3 separate regions of the Homo sapiens genome follow, and all the other regions are linked to region 3. The links are contacts of gene promoters, found by promoter capture Hi-C in blood cells and fetal thymus (Javierre and others, 2016). All regions are on one chromosome and are shown on one strand. Each heading gives the region's core, a stretch centred on a gene start or on the middle of the fragment in contact. The rest is flanking DNA. Distances are from core to core; before and after follow the strand shown.

Region 1 (3,791 bases), core at 635-3,134, 2.0 Mb before region 3:
ACTAAAAATACAAAAAATTTGCTGGGCGCGGTGGTGCCTGCCTGTAGTCCCAGCAACTCCAGAGGCTGAGACAAGACTCTCTTGAACCTGAGAGGTGCAGGTTGCAGTGGGCCCAGATCACGCCACTGCACTCCAGCCTGGGCAACACAGCAAGACCCTGTCTCAAAAAAAAAAAAAAAAGATGGTGTTTTACTAAGAGTCTAATTTTTGAAGTTCTCTGTGCTGTGCACCTTGAGAAATAATGCTGTCCTCATTAGTTAAGATGTTTGGAACTATACAGCACCATGGTTATGAGCAGGGACTGTGAAACAGGCTGCCTGGATTTAAGTCCTGGCTCTGTCTCGGCTATTTGTGTAAGCTTAGATTAATTACTTAGCCCGGCTGTGTCTTAGTTTCTGTATCTGTAACATGAGGATATGCCAGTTTTGGGAACCTCAGGGTTTTTAGGGTGGGTTAAATGAGTTGATATCTGTAAAGAAAGCACAGCAGTGTCTGGCCCATAGTGCTTTGTAAGTGTGGGTGATTATCAATACTGCTGAGCCTTTAGCATGTGTGCCAGGCCCTGTGCGAACTGTTGTATCATCAATGAGCTGTGGGAGGTATATGCAGCTGAAGTGTCTGATTAAACACTATTTAATCATAGAAATAGAAAATCATAGAAATAGAAAAACTATTTCACCTGGGCCTTAAAAATGGGTTACTGGCCAAGCGCAGTGGCTCAAGCCTATAATCCTGGCACTTTTGGAGGCCGAGGTGGGTGGATCGCTCAGGAGTTCGAGACCACCCTGGAGAACATGGTGAAACCCTGTCTCTACTAAAATACAAAAAATTAGCTGGGGGTGGTGGCGCGTGTCTATAGTCCCAACTACTTGGGAGGCTGAGGCACGAGAATTGCTTGAGCACCGGAGGCGGAGGTTGCAGTGAGCCGAGATCCAATCACTGCACTTCAGCTTGGGCTATAGAGTGAGACTCCGTCAAAAAAAAAAAAAAAAAGTTACTATACTGTAGCTGGTATTTATTGAACACCTACTATGTTCAAGGCATTGTTCTAAGTACTATACAATAATTAACTAATTTAATTCTTAAAACAATCCTAGGCAGTAAACTATTGTCCTTATTTCAAAGAAGAAGAAACAGCACAGGGTCCTGTCATGCCCAAGTGGGTGAGGAATACTGGAAAACAATTGGCAGCTGAGTGTTCCAGTTCCAGAGAGGGCACTCTGGAACCAACCAAGGTTCTCTTTCCTCATTTTTTACGTGAGTATCTTGGGATATAAAGTCTTAAAGAATGAATTTCAGAATATGTGAGGAAATCCATTTCCCAGGTAGACCACAGTGCTCTTGAATATCAAGATTAACAGTAACAATTGTAACAATTGGTGTTTTCTTAGTCCTTATCATCCTTGATCACACCACCCTCTTTATTCTTCTCCTCCTTCTGAATAACTCCTTGTTTTCTCAGCTTTCCTTTTCTTTCTTCTCTCCTAGAATAAGTTTTGCTTATTATCTTCTTTGTGTTTTCAGTACCTATCAGATTCAATTTTCACCTTCAGCTGACTAAAATAATCTCTTCAGCCCTCACCTCTTCCCAGTTGGTCACCTTTACCAAAGATTACTCACACCTCAAAGACAAGAAGTCCATTATCATTATCCACAGAGTCCATCCTCACCAAGGCTACCCTGTCTGTGGTTTTTTTTTTTTTTTTTTTTTTTTTTGAGATGGAGTTTTGCTCTTGTTGCCCAGGCTGGAGTGCAGTGTTGCGATCTCGGCTCACTGCAACCTCTGCCTCCCCACTTCAAGTGATTCCCCTGTCTCAGCCTCCTGAGTAGCTTGGATTACAGGTGTGCACCACCACGCTTGGCTAATTGTGGAGACGGGGTTTCACCATGTTGGCCAGGCTGGTCTCGAACTCCTGACCTCAGGTGATCTGCCTGCCTCGGCCTCCCAAAGTGTTGGGATTACAAGTATGAGCCACCTCGCCCGGCCTACTCTATGTGAACAGCACTTTCTTTCTACCTTGTACCCAGATTCCTTGCTTTGACTTCCCCCATATCATATAAAGATTGCAGACTAATCAGCTGTCAAGAGTTCTACTGATTGGGTAATACAATATCTAATCCTTCTAGATTAAATCATGGCTTCATCTCCACTGTCTCATGAGTCAGTCACTCCTTCCTACTTCCTGCCACTTCAGCCCACATGCAGTCCCTTTATTGAATCTGTCTGACAAATAACAGGATCATCTTTTTCAAGTACAGTTCTGATCAAGCCTTTACCATACCAAAACTTTTTTTTTTTTTTGAGACAGAGTCTCACTCTATTGCTCAGATTGTAGTGCAATGGCGCAATCTCAGCTCACTGCAACCTTGGCCTTCTGGGTTCAAGTGATTCTCCTGCCACACTCTCTCTAGTAGCTGGGACTACAGTCACATGCCACCACACCCAGCTAATTTTTTGTATTTTTAGTAGAGATGGGGTTTCGCCATGTTGACCAGGCTGGTCTCAAACTCCTGACCTCAGGTGATCCACCTGCCTTGGCTTCCCCAAGTGCTGAGATTACAGGTGTGAGCCACCATACCCAGCCTACCTTACCAAAAGTTTCAAGAACTTCCCCAATTTTAGGCTGCCGTTTTTCAGTATTTCTATTTAGGTATTAAATCTGCAACGAGGGAGATATTGGAGAAATTATTCATGCTACAAGAAATGTTGGAGAGGCAAAATGGCTTCAGTCAACAGACTACAGGGAGCTAGGTTTTAGTTTCATGTCTTCTACAACCCTGCTTGGAGCCCAGCCTGTTACTTAGTGTCCTATGTCTTCCAACTCCACACTATTTTTTTTTTTTTTAATAGAGACGGTGCTTCACTATGTTGCCCAGGCAGATCTCAAACTCCCAGCCTTAAGTAATCCTTCCACCTCAGCCTCCCAAAGTGCTGGGATTATAGTTAGAGGCTGTACCTGGCCACCAACAGCTCAACACTAAACATCTTACTGTTAGCCCCTCACGCACAGATAAGGAATCCAGAAGACAGTACCAGAAGATCTTTGTTCAGATGTGAGTAGTTTATGTAAATTCATGAAGAACTTACAGTCAACTGGATGTTCAGAAGGCATTCCTTTCTTCATTACAGTCACCCTTCACACACGGCAGGGGTGACTGAATTCTCTAAGGTCCAGGCACCCTACACTGCTGTCCCATCTGAATTGGCAGAGAAATATCTCATCCCTGGACATTTTTATCCCCCTGTCTAGATGGATTAGTGACCTAAATATGAAAAATAATGAAGAAAGTCTGGGAGAATAGTTTTACAACTTTTGAGGGAGGGGAAGGAAACCTTTTAGCAAGTTATTAAAATTAAAAGCCATAGAAGGAAAGATTGAAAATTTAACTGCATCCAGATGAAAAGCTTCATTCATATGAATGACACTGTAAATAAAGTTGAAATACCTGGAAGAAGGAATTCTCCAATATATGTAATTGACAAATGATTAAAGGATATGAATTGGGCATCCTCAAAAGAGAAAACTTGAGACCAAGCAAAATGAAAGGATGGTTCAATCTTAATGGCCCTATGGGATACGCAAAATAAAGCAAAAATAACATTGTTTTTCCTCATAAGATTGGCCTACTAGATATCAAGACACACTGTAAAGAGCTATAATAATGTAAAACATTTGGCACTTGACATGCAGAAATCAACAAATGGATCAATGAAAAAATAATGCAGACTCCAGACATGGATCTGGTATATACATATCCAAGCGTTTATTTTATAATAAAGGTAACATTTC
Region 2 (4,020 bases), core at 862-3,361, 2.4 Mb before region 3:
TCCTACATGAGAAGGACCTTCACCAGTCCTCAGAGACTAGCACAGCTGCCCAGCTGGTGAAGGGGACAATTCCCTGGGCAGCCAACCATTCTGCAGCTCCATGCCCTTTCTTCCTGGGGCAGCCACAAACCTTCAGAAGCACCCATGGGCTCAGACCCCCCCCACAACCCCGTCTCCCTAAATGATCCTGCTACGCTGAGATCAAGCTCAGATCAATAAACACTACTGAGCACCTATGCCATGTCCAGCCTGGGTTCTAAGACCACACCAAGTTCATAGCTGGTGAGGGACTTTCCAGACTTGGAATAGTGCCTGCAACAATGCCTCGCACCCCACAGAAATCTCAACCATGCTTTGTTAACTAAACTGAGGATGACATTAGGTGGCCCAAGCAGTGGAGTTCAGAGATGTGGGGATGGATATATCCAGAGTCTCCAACTGAAGTTGGGGTGCAACACAATGAGAAGGAAAGGGAAAATACATCTGGTGGCCCTGGGTTTCCAGGGCCTGTCACTATAACGTTAGGGATCGGAGTGGGATCAGACTGCGCGTGGTGGCTCACACCTGTAATCCCTGTGCTTTGGGAGGCTGAGGTGGGAGGATCACTTGAGCCCAGCAATTTGAGGCTATGATCACACCAGCAGCTAAGGGGATAGAAGGGCATACAGGGCCATTATGGTGGAGTCTGGGCTTCATTCTGGGGGTGCCAGGGCCCAGGAAGATCCCTGGAAAGACGGCCGCCCCCACCAACCACTCGGCTAGCTGAAATGTGGCAAGGACATAGGGGTGCTCCGATGGCCTGTCCCCAGGTTTCCCTTCACAAATAGAGAAGGGTGGCCGGAGCACTCAGCAGGCACTAACTGCTTCTGGACTTCAAGGTCAAGGGGCAAGGGGAAGGCTACTTTTGAGGATTTGGCAGGCCACTCTCTCACTAGCCCAAGAGCAACTCCCTCTCGGAAGGGAGGAAGATCCCCTGGAGAGCAGACCACTGCCAAGAGCACACCTGCAGAGGCTCCAATACAATGCTCTGCACAGCCGCCCAGCACCGCCTGACCTCCCGGATAGCAGCGCCAGCACAGCCAACGAGTGTGTGACACCGCCGCACTCACCACCGCTCTGCGCCCAGCCCCAGGCCAGTACCCGGGCCCACGACTTCCCCCGACTCCCCCTAGCACGGACTGTTTCTCGCCGGAGATCAACTTTAAGTCCCCAAGACAAGTGCTCCTGCGGTCCCAGGGCCAAAGTCCCTCCACACACCCTCACACAGGCACTTCCTACCCACCCGCACCCCACCCCTGGGGGTGGAGGAGAAGCAGCAGCGGCCCGGGACAAGCACAGTCCGCAGCCACAAACCTCACTCTACCAGAACTCCGGCTAGGTCAGGGGTCAGGCTTTGCTCCCAAACACAACCCCACACGACTAACGCGGAGAAGCTGGGTCACCGCCTACTCAAACTCCGGCCGTCCCAAACCCAAGCCGGGCAGAGTGGGACCCACGGCGGCGTGGGAGACTGAGCACAACCACGGCGGGGCAGGAGGAAGGGGCGGCCCGCCCCGGCCTACGCCCACCCCCACCCCGGACCCGATCTCCTGGGAGCCGAGGGTGGGTGACTGAGCCGAAAGGGTGGCCCATCCCCGAGCTCGCTGCTGGGGACGAGAAGCAGAGCCCCGAGCAGCAGCGGCCGTCCAGGCTCCCGTCGCCCTCACCCCGCCCGGCACGGGCGCGCACTCGCCGGGGCGCGCTGATGGGGCGAGGGCTACCGAACCAGGAGTGCCGGCCCCGGGCCCGCCGCGGCTCTCGTCCGCGCGGCGCCGGAGTTCGGCTCAGCGGGGTCCCGGCGGAGGCCTCCAACCTCTAGCGAGCAATCCTGGCAGACAAAGCCAGCGCCGCCCGCGGGGCCGCTCCTGGGCAGGCGGGGAGGGAGGCTGAGGGGCCAAACAGGGACCTAAGGAGCAGCCCTCGCCCCCGGAGAACGCTCGGGGAAGTCGGCCTCAGACAAAGAAAGGGGCAGGGCCCGACGCCCCAGCCAGGTCTCCGCGCTCTACTCACCCGCGCGCGGCGGCGGCAGCGGCGGCGCGGCCCGGCTCGGCCGAGGAAGTTAGAGCAAGTTCCGCGGCGCGGGGCGGGAGGGCGCGACTCGGGCCGTCCGAGCGGCGGGGGCGGGGCGCGGAGGGGCGCGGAGGGGCGGGGCCGGAGGCGCGGCGCCTGCCGTCTGCCGAGGAAGGGGCGCCGCTTCCCTGCGCCGCCCGGTGCGGCCCCGGGCGCCTGGGCCCGCCCTGGCCCCGCCCCTCCCCCAGCCGCCTCGCCCCTCCCCCACCGCACCCCGCCTCCCGGCCCGCGCGGCACCGGGGACCGCGAGGCCGGGTCGCCGGCCCGCCCCTTTGTCCCGCTCTGGGCGGTGCCGGAGGCTTGGGGCGGCCCCGGTCCGCGCCCTCCCAGTGGGTGCGCGGCGCAGGCCGGGCCTGGCCCGGGGCCGGGCACTTGTAGCCGCCGGGAGCGCTCTGAGCCGTTGCGCTGCGCAGACGCCGCTCTGGCCTTGTCGGAGCCGAACCTGGGAGAAGCACGAGCTGTGGGAGGCGGCGTCTCGAGGGATACACGGGATGACCGTGGAGAGCGGGCGAAGGATTAGGAAAATGGCTGTGGTGGAGATAAGAGGCGTTCCTGCCCGGCTTTGGAGCCTGGGGGCGGGGGTAGTCTTCAATCAAAAGAAGGATGGGGAAAAGGTTTTTATTTCTTTGTAAACCAAGGAGTAAGGACACGCTCCTTCTGGCCTTGGTGCTAAAAATACCAAGCTTTCTTTGGATCGTGGCTGAGATTTCTTCCTAACCTTTACGCTAAAGAGGTGGCTGGGACGATTCTTGTGGTGTAGGGGGGTTTCCAGGGACAGCCAGGGGTGGCGCCCCTCTTTGGATCGTGGCTGAGATTTGTTCCTCACCTTTACGCTAAAGAGATGGCTGGGACGATTCCTGTGGGGTAGAGGGGTTTCCAGGGATAGCCAGGGGCGGCTCCCCAGCCTCAGCCTCCCTACCTGTAGAATGAAGCATGCCACACCTCTGTTTCTTAAACTTATTCGGTGGCTGAGGGCCGAGTGGTCTTCTCTGTTGAGTAACACCAAACAGGGATCTATTAAAACTGGGCTAAGACTGGTTGCCACATGCCAGTACAAGCAACCAACAGGTTAATTCCAATGGAAGGAGGAAATCTTGAAATGGAGACTGTTCAGTCCATTCCCAGGTTTGTTTGGGTTGTTTTTTGAGCTAAGGTATCGCTTTGTCACCCAGGCTGGAGTGCAGTGGCATGACCATGGCTCACTGCAGCCTCGACCTCCCGCCTCAGCTTCCCCAAGTAGCTGGGACCACAGGTGCAGGCCACCACACCTAGCTAATTTTTTTTTTTTTTTTTTTGTAGAGACGAGATCTTGCTGTGTTGCCAGTGATGGTCTTAAATTCCTGGGCTTAAGCAATCCTTCCGCCTCTGCCTCCCAGAGTGCTGGAATTACACGCATGAGCCACGGTGCCTGGCTAATTTTATTTGTTTGTTTAATTAAGAGGGATGCAACCTGTCTGTGACAGCCCAGGCAGCTCTGGAAACTCCCTGGGAACCTGTCCATTCATTCAGCAGATAGTGAGTGTTTGTCTGAGTGCCTGATAATATGCCAGGCCCTGTGTGCATGGTGGGATACTTCAGTGAACAAGACAGCTGAGGCCTTTTGCCCAATAAAGTTAATTTTTAGTGGAGAAGACAAATACATAATCACAAGTTGAAGTAAAGGCTGGGACAAAAACAAGGGGCTAGAATAGAGAATAAAAGCTACCTTAGATGAAGCAGTCAGGGAAAGTGAGGAGGCGATGCTGAAATTGAAGTCAAAAGAGTAAGGAGTTAGCCTTGGGAAAAGTTGGGCAGAGACATTCCTCGCTGAGAGCAGTAGGTGCCTTTTCAGGGTAAGTTCTGGATGGGTCAGGGAACTGAAAGAAAATCAGTGTGGCTGAAGTTTTAAGCCTAGGGGAAGAGGCCCAGGAT
Region 3 (4,185 bases), core at 425-2,924:
CAGGCTGCAGTGCAATGGCATGGTCTCGGCTCACTGCAACCTCCACCTCCCAGCTTCAAGCGATTCTCCTGCCTCAGCCTCCCGAGTACCTGGGATTACAGGCGCACACCACCAACCCCAGCTAATTTTTGTATTTTTAGTAGAGATGGGGTTTCACCATGTTGACCAGGCTGGTCCCGAACTCCTGACCTCAGGTGATCCGCCCACCTTGGCCTCCCAAAGTGCTAGGATTACAGGCGTGAGCCACCACGCCTGGCTGCCTACACAACTTTAAATGGTGAAAGCTAGACTCCCATGATGGCACTGTGATTTCATAACTTTTGCTCTTAACCTCTAGATAAGTCACACACGATCCAACCCTTGTTGGTATAATATTGTAAACATCAGAGCCGGGTGTGGTGGCTCACACCTGTAATCCTATCACTTTGGGAGACTGAGGCGGGCGGATCACGAGGTCAGGGATTCGAGACCAGCCTGGCCAACATAGTAAAACCCCGTCTCTACTAAAAATACAAAAATTAGCTGGGCGTGGTGGCGGGCGCTTGTAGTCCCAGCTACTCGGGAGGCTGAGCCAGGAGAATCGCTTGAACCCGGGAGGCGGAGGTTGCGGTGAGCCGAGATTTCGCCACTGCACTCCAGTCTAGGCGACAGAGCGAGACTCCGTCTCAAAAAAAAAAAAAAAAAAAAAACAAAAAAAACCCATAATGTTGACTATATATATATATATATATATATATATATAGTCAACATTATTTCATGATTAAGTGATGGAGTACCGAAATGAGTTAGAAAAACCTGATATGCCTCGTTTGTCTGTGACATTGTGTTTTGCTAGTGAGGATCCATGGCGTCTGAAAATGAGATAGCGTCCCTTCTTAAAAATTGAAAGTTGTTAAACACTTTTGTTAAGTTCTGTTTTGAGTTTCTCACAAATAATGAGGACTTAGTTCTAATTCTAAGCGCTAAGCCCTGTGGTGATGTGATTTCCTTGCTAGGCTCATGCACTAATATATCACACTAGGATCACCTCCCACAAGTTCTCACAGACTGTAGACAACTTATTTCAAGACATGAATGATCTTTACTTTCCATTCTCCCTTTTCTTCTGTAGATTACCATGGCTGTTTTCACTCTAACAGATTTTCAACTGTTTTTGTAATCAATAATGTAAGTTTAATTCTTCCCCCCTCCCTCCAAATAACTTCATGAACTGGAGGCACATGTGCGCCCATATTTTCCGCTCTGTTTTCCTTTGTTGGTCCTCCACAGATAGTGCCCTCTGTTGGATGGGCCGGTTCATTTTAGCTTCCACCTTCCCTTAAAACAATTAGAAGCTCTTAATTTAGATGGTACTGATGTTAATGATGATGATTTTCCATTTTATGCAAGTTTTGGCCCTCTGCTTGTCTAAAAGCCTTGAGGCAAAGAGTTATATGCAGTTTCTCTGCGGGTGTCTGATTACGTGGAGAAATTGACCAGAAATGGGATTTTTAAAATACAGCACACGCCTCGGTGCGGCTTCCAGTAAGCGCCACCAGGTGACGGTGCGGGGAAAGGGAAAAAAAAAAAAAAAAAAGGCATGCCGGAAGTCTCTCTTGACAGACAGACGCGCGGGCGAGTAGCGGAAGAGGAAGCGGACACGTGGGACACTCTACGGTGGCCGAGAGGATGCCGCAGATGTGTTAGCGGCGAGTCCAGAAGCAGCCCCAGGAGGTGCTGGGGGCATCGTTTCTCTAATCTGGCCTCCCGAGTGCCAAGGAGGCGTCCCGGCAGCGGTCATCATGGTGAAGGAGCAGTTCCGGGAGACGGATGTGGCCAAGAAAATGTAAGACGGAGTAAGAGTGGCCAAAGGGCTGAGAAATAGGGCAAGGGGTCCGAGGTCAGCGGTCCCGGGTCTTGCAGGGTCAGAGATGGGGTGCAATGGGAAGGGGAGGGCCAGTAGTCCATAGGTGTGACCAGCGCCCAGAACTACCAGCGTTGGTCAAAGAGCATTGGTCAGGCTGAGGGGATTTCAGCACCTCGAGAGGTCCCTGGACTTGGGCGGAGAAGTCGGAGTGGCCTGAGCCTTAATGATTTGTGCACCCTGGGCCAAAGCTCGCATTCTCCTGAAGTCATACAATGATCCCTGTTCTTCAGCGAACTATCCCCTGCTGCAGCGAGGGGAGCAATCTGGGGCGGGGACTGTCTCTAATTCTGTCAGCCGCAGAGCGTCTGACACGGAGGCAGTAGTTGCTTACCAAAAGGATGGGGTTGCCCACTAGAAAGCTGTACCACAGGCCGACGGATGGCAGTGTCAGAAATAAAGCTGCTATCCGGACTTTTGCCTTCAGAAATACGTTATTAGGCGGTGGCTCCTTCTTAGAGTTCTCGGTAAGAAAGTGAATCCAGCCGGGCGCGGTGGCTTACTCCTGTAATCCCAGCACTTTAGGAGGCCGAAGCGGGTGAATCTCCTGAGCTCAGGAGTTTGAGACTAGCCTGGGCAACGTGGCGAAACCCCGTCTCTATCAAAAATACAAAAATTAGCAGGCGTGGTGGCGCGCCCTTGTGGTCCCAGCTACTCGGGAGGCTGAGGCCGAAAAATCACTTGAGCCTGGGAGGCAGAGGTTGCAGTGGGCAACCTCCTGCATTCCACCCTGAGTGACAGAGTGAGACGGTGTCTCAAAAAAAAAAGTGAATTCATCATTCTTACAGCAGACACTGAGGAGGATACTGCGCGTTATTCCCAGTGTTGGACGTTAAAGATACGGTCTGAATAAAACTTTTACTGCCTAATCTAGTTGGAGAAGGTACACAAGTCAACACTGGGTACGACAAGTGCAATGACAAGGGTAGGTCCAGGGGGTTTTGAGAGCACATAATGGGTCCAGGCAAAAGAAAGCAGACCAAACTGCTTTTTTCAAGGAGCAGACCTGAGGGAGAGAACACAGGTGATCAGAAGGAAGCAGAAGACTTGAAGCTGTGTTAAGAAGTCATCTTGTAGGCAGTGAGGAACCTTTGAAGGATTTTCAACAGGAGAGTATCTTGATAAGAGTTCTCCTTCTGGAAAATCTCTTGATTCATGGTGGAAAGAATTAGAGGTCGAGAGACCTTGAGACGGATATACAGAATGCCTTGCTTGGGCAGCTGTGTGGATGGTTGCCATTCACTAGAACAGGTGTCTTACCTAGGTGAATGCAGCATTCTCCCATGTGGTAGCTCTACATCGACACTGGCCCTTCACACCCACCTGTACACCTGCGCCCAGTCAGATATAATACATTCTCACAAAACAGAGAAAGTGCTTCTGTCAAAGTGCAAATTAAGGGTATTGTCAATTAAAATCCTCTAGCAGAGGCCAGGAGTGGTGGCTCACGTCTGTAATCCCAGCACTTTGGGAGGCCATGGCAGGCAGATCATGAGGTCAGAAGTTCAAGACCAGACTGGCCAATATGGTAAAACCTCATCTCTACTAAAAATACAAAAATTAGCTGGGTGCGGTGGCGCATGCCTGTATGCCTGTAACCCCAGCTACTTGGGAGTCTGAGGCAGGAGAATCGCTTGAACCCAGGAGGCAGAGGTTGCAGTGAGCTGAGATCGCACCACTGCACTCCAGCCTGGGTGACAGAGCAAGACTCTGTCTCAGGGAAAAAAAAAAATCCTCTAGCAGCTTTCCATTGTGTGGGCCATCACGCCTAGCAAATTTTTTGTATTTTTAGTAGAGACAGGGTTTCACCATGTTAGCCAGGATGGTCTCAATCTCCTTGCCTCGTGATCCACCCACCTTGGCCTCCCAAAGTGCTGGGATTACAGGCATGAGCCACCGCACCCGGCTGCATTTATGTTATTTAAATAAATTCCCTACCAAAGTTCCCAAGCCCTCATGCTTTAGCTCCTGCATGCTTCACTGACTTTATCTTGTACTATTAGCTTTCTATGCTCCAGTATATACTGATTTCATTTGGTTCCTTGAAAATGCCAAGCTTGTGCCAGTCCCAGGACCCTGGCCCTAGTCATTCTCTCCACTTCAGATGCTCTTCCTTCTGATTGTCAGTTTTACAGTGAGGCTTTCTGACCATGCAACGTAAAGTAATTCCTCAGACTCCACTGCTTACATCACTTCTGCATCTGTTCACATTTGTATATTCGTTTGTTTGTGGTCTGTCTTTCCCACCCTGACCTGTGAGCTCTTTGTTGGCAAGGACCTTG

Evidence for each region. Contacts are between HindIII fragments. The CHiCAGO score rates a contact against its expected background, and 5 or more counts as called.
Region 1: a contact is called between a fragment that was not itself captured here and the fragment with the promoter of POLR3A in region 3, in 2 of 17 cell types (activated CD4 T cells and naive CD8 T cells). The highest score is 7.5, in activated CD4 T cells.
Region 2: the fragment with the promoter of TSPAN14 here is called in contact with the fragment with the promoter of POLR3A in region 3 in 2 of 17 cell types (naive CD8 T cells and activated CD4 T cells); the score reaches 8.2 in naive CD8 T cells.

What each region holds. Positions count from the first base shown.
Region 1 is chr10:80,074,406-80,078,196 of GRCh38, reverse strand. All of the region lies in intron 1 of TMEM254-AS1 (TMEM254 antisense RNA 1), which reads left to right. Among named protein-coding and RNA genes, the nearest start is that of TMEM254, 2.4 kb to the left of the region's middle. The HindIII fragment of the contact is 3,048 bases long and covers 361-3,408 here.
Region 2 is chr10:80,452,401-80,456,420 of GRCh38, reverse strand. TSPAN14 (tetraspanin 14) reads right to left here and starts at 2,111. Exons shown (of 9, transcript NM_030927.4): 1 at 2,050-2,111. RefSeq lists enhancers at 996-1,045, 1,076-1,335, 1,285-1,802, 2,546-2,755 and a silencer at 1,466-2,515. The HindIII fragment of the contact is 5,289 bases long and covers 1-2,794 here.
Region 3 is chr10:78,027,004-78,031,188 of GRCh38, reverse strand. POLR3A (RNA polymerase III subunit A) reads left to right here and starts at 1,674. Exons shown (of 31, transcript NM_007055.4): 1 at 1,674-1,825. The coding sequence starts at 1,782. RefSeq lists an enhancer at 1,505-1,754. The HindIII fragment of the contact is 13,008 bases long and covers 1-3,961 here.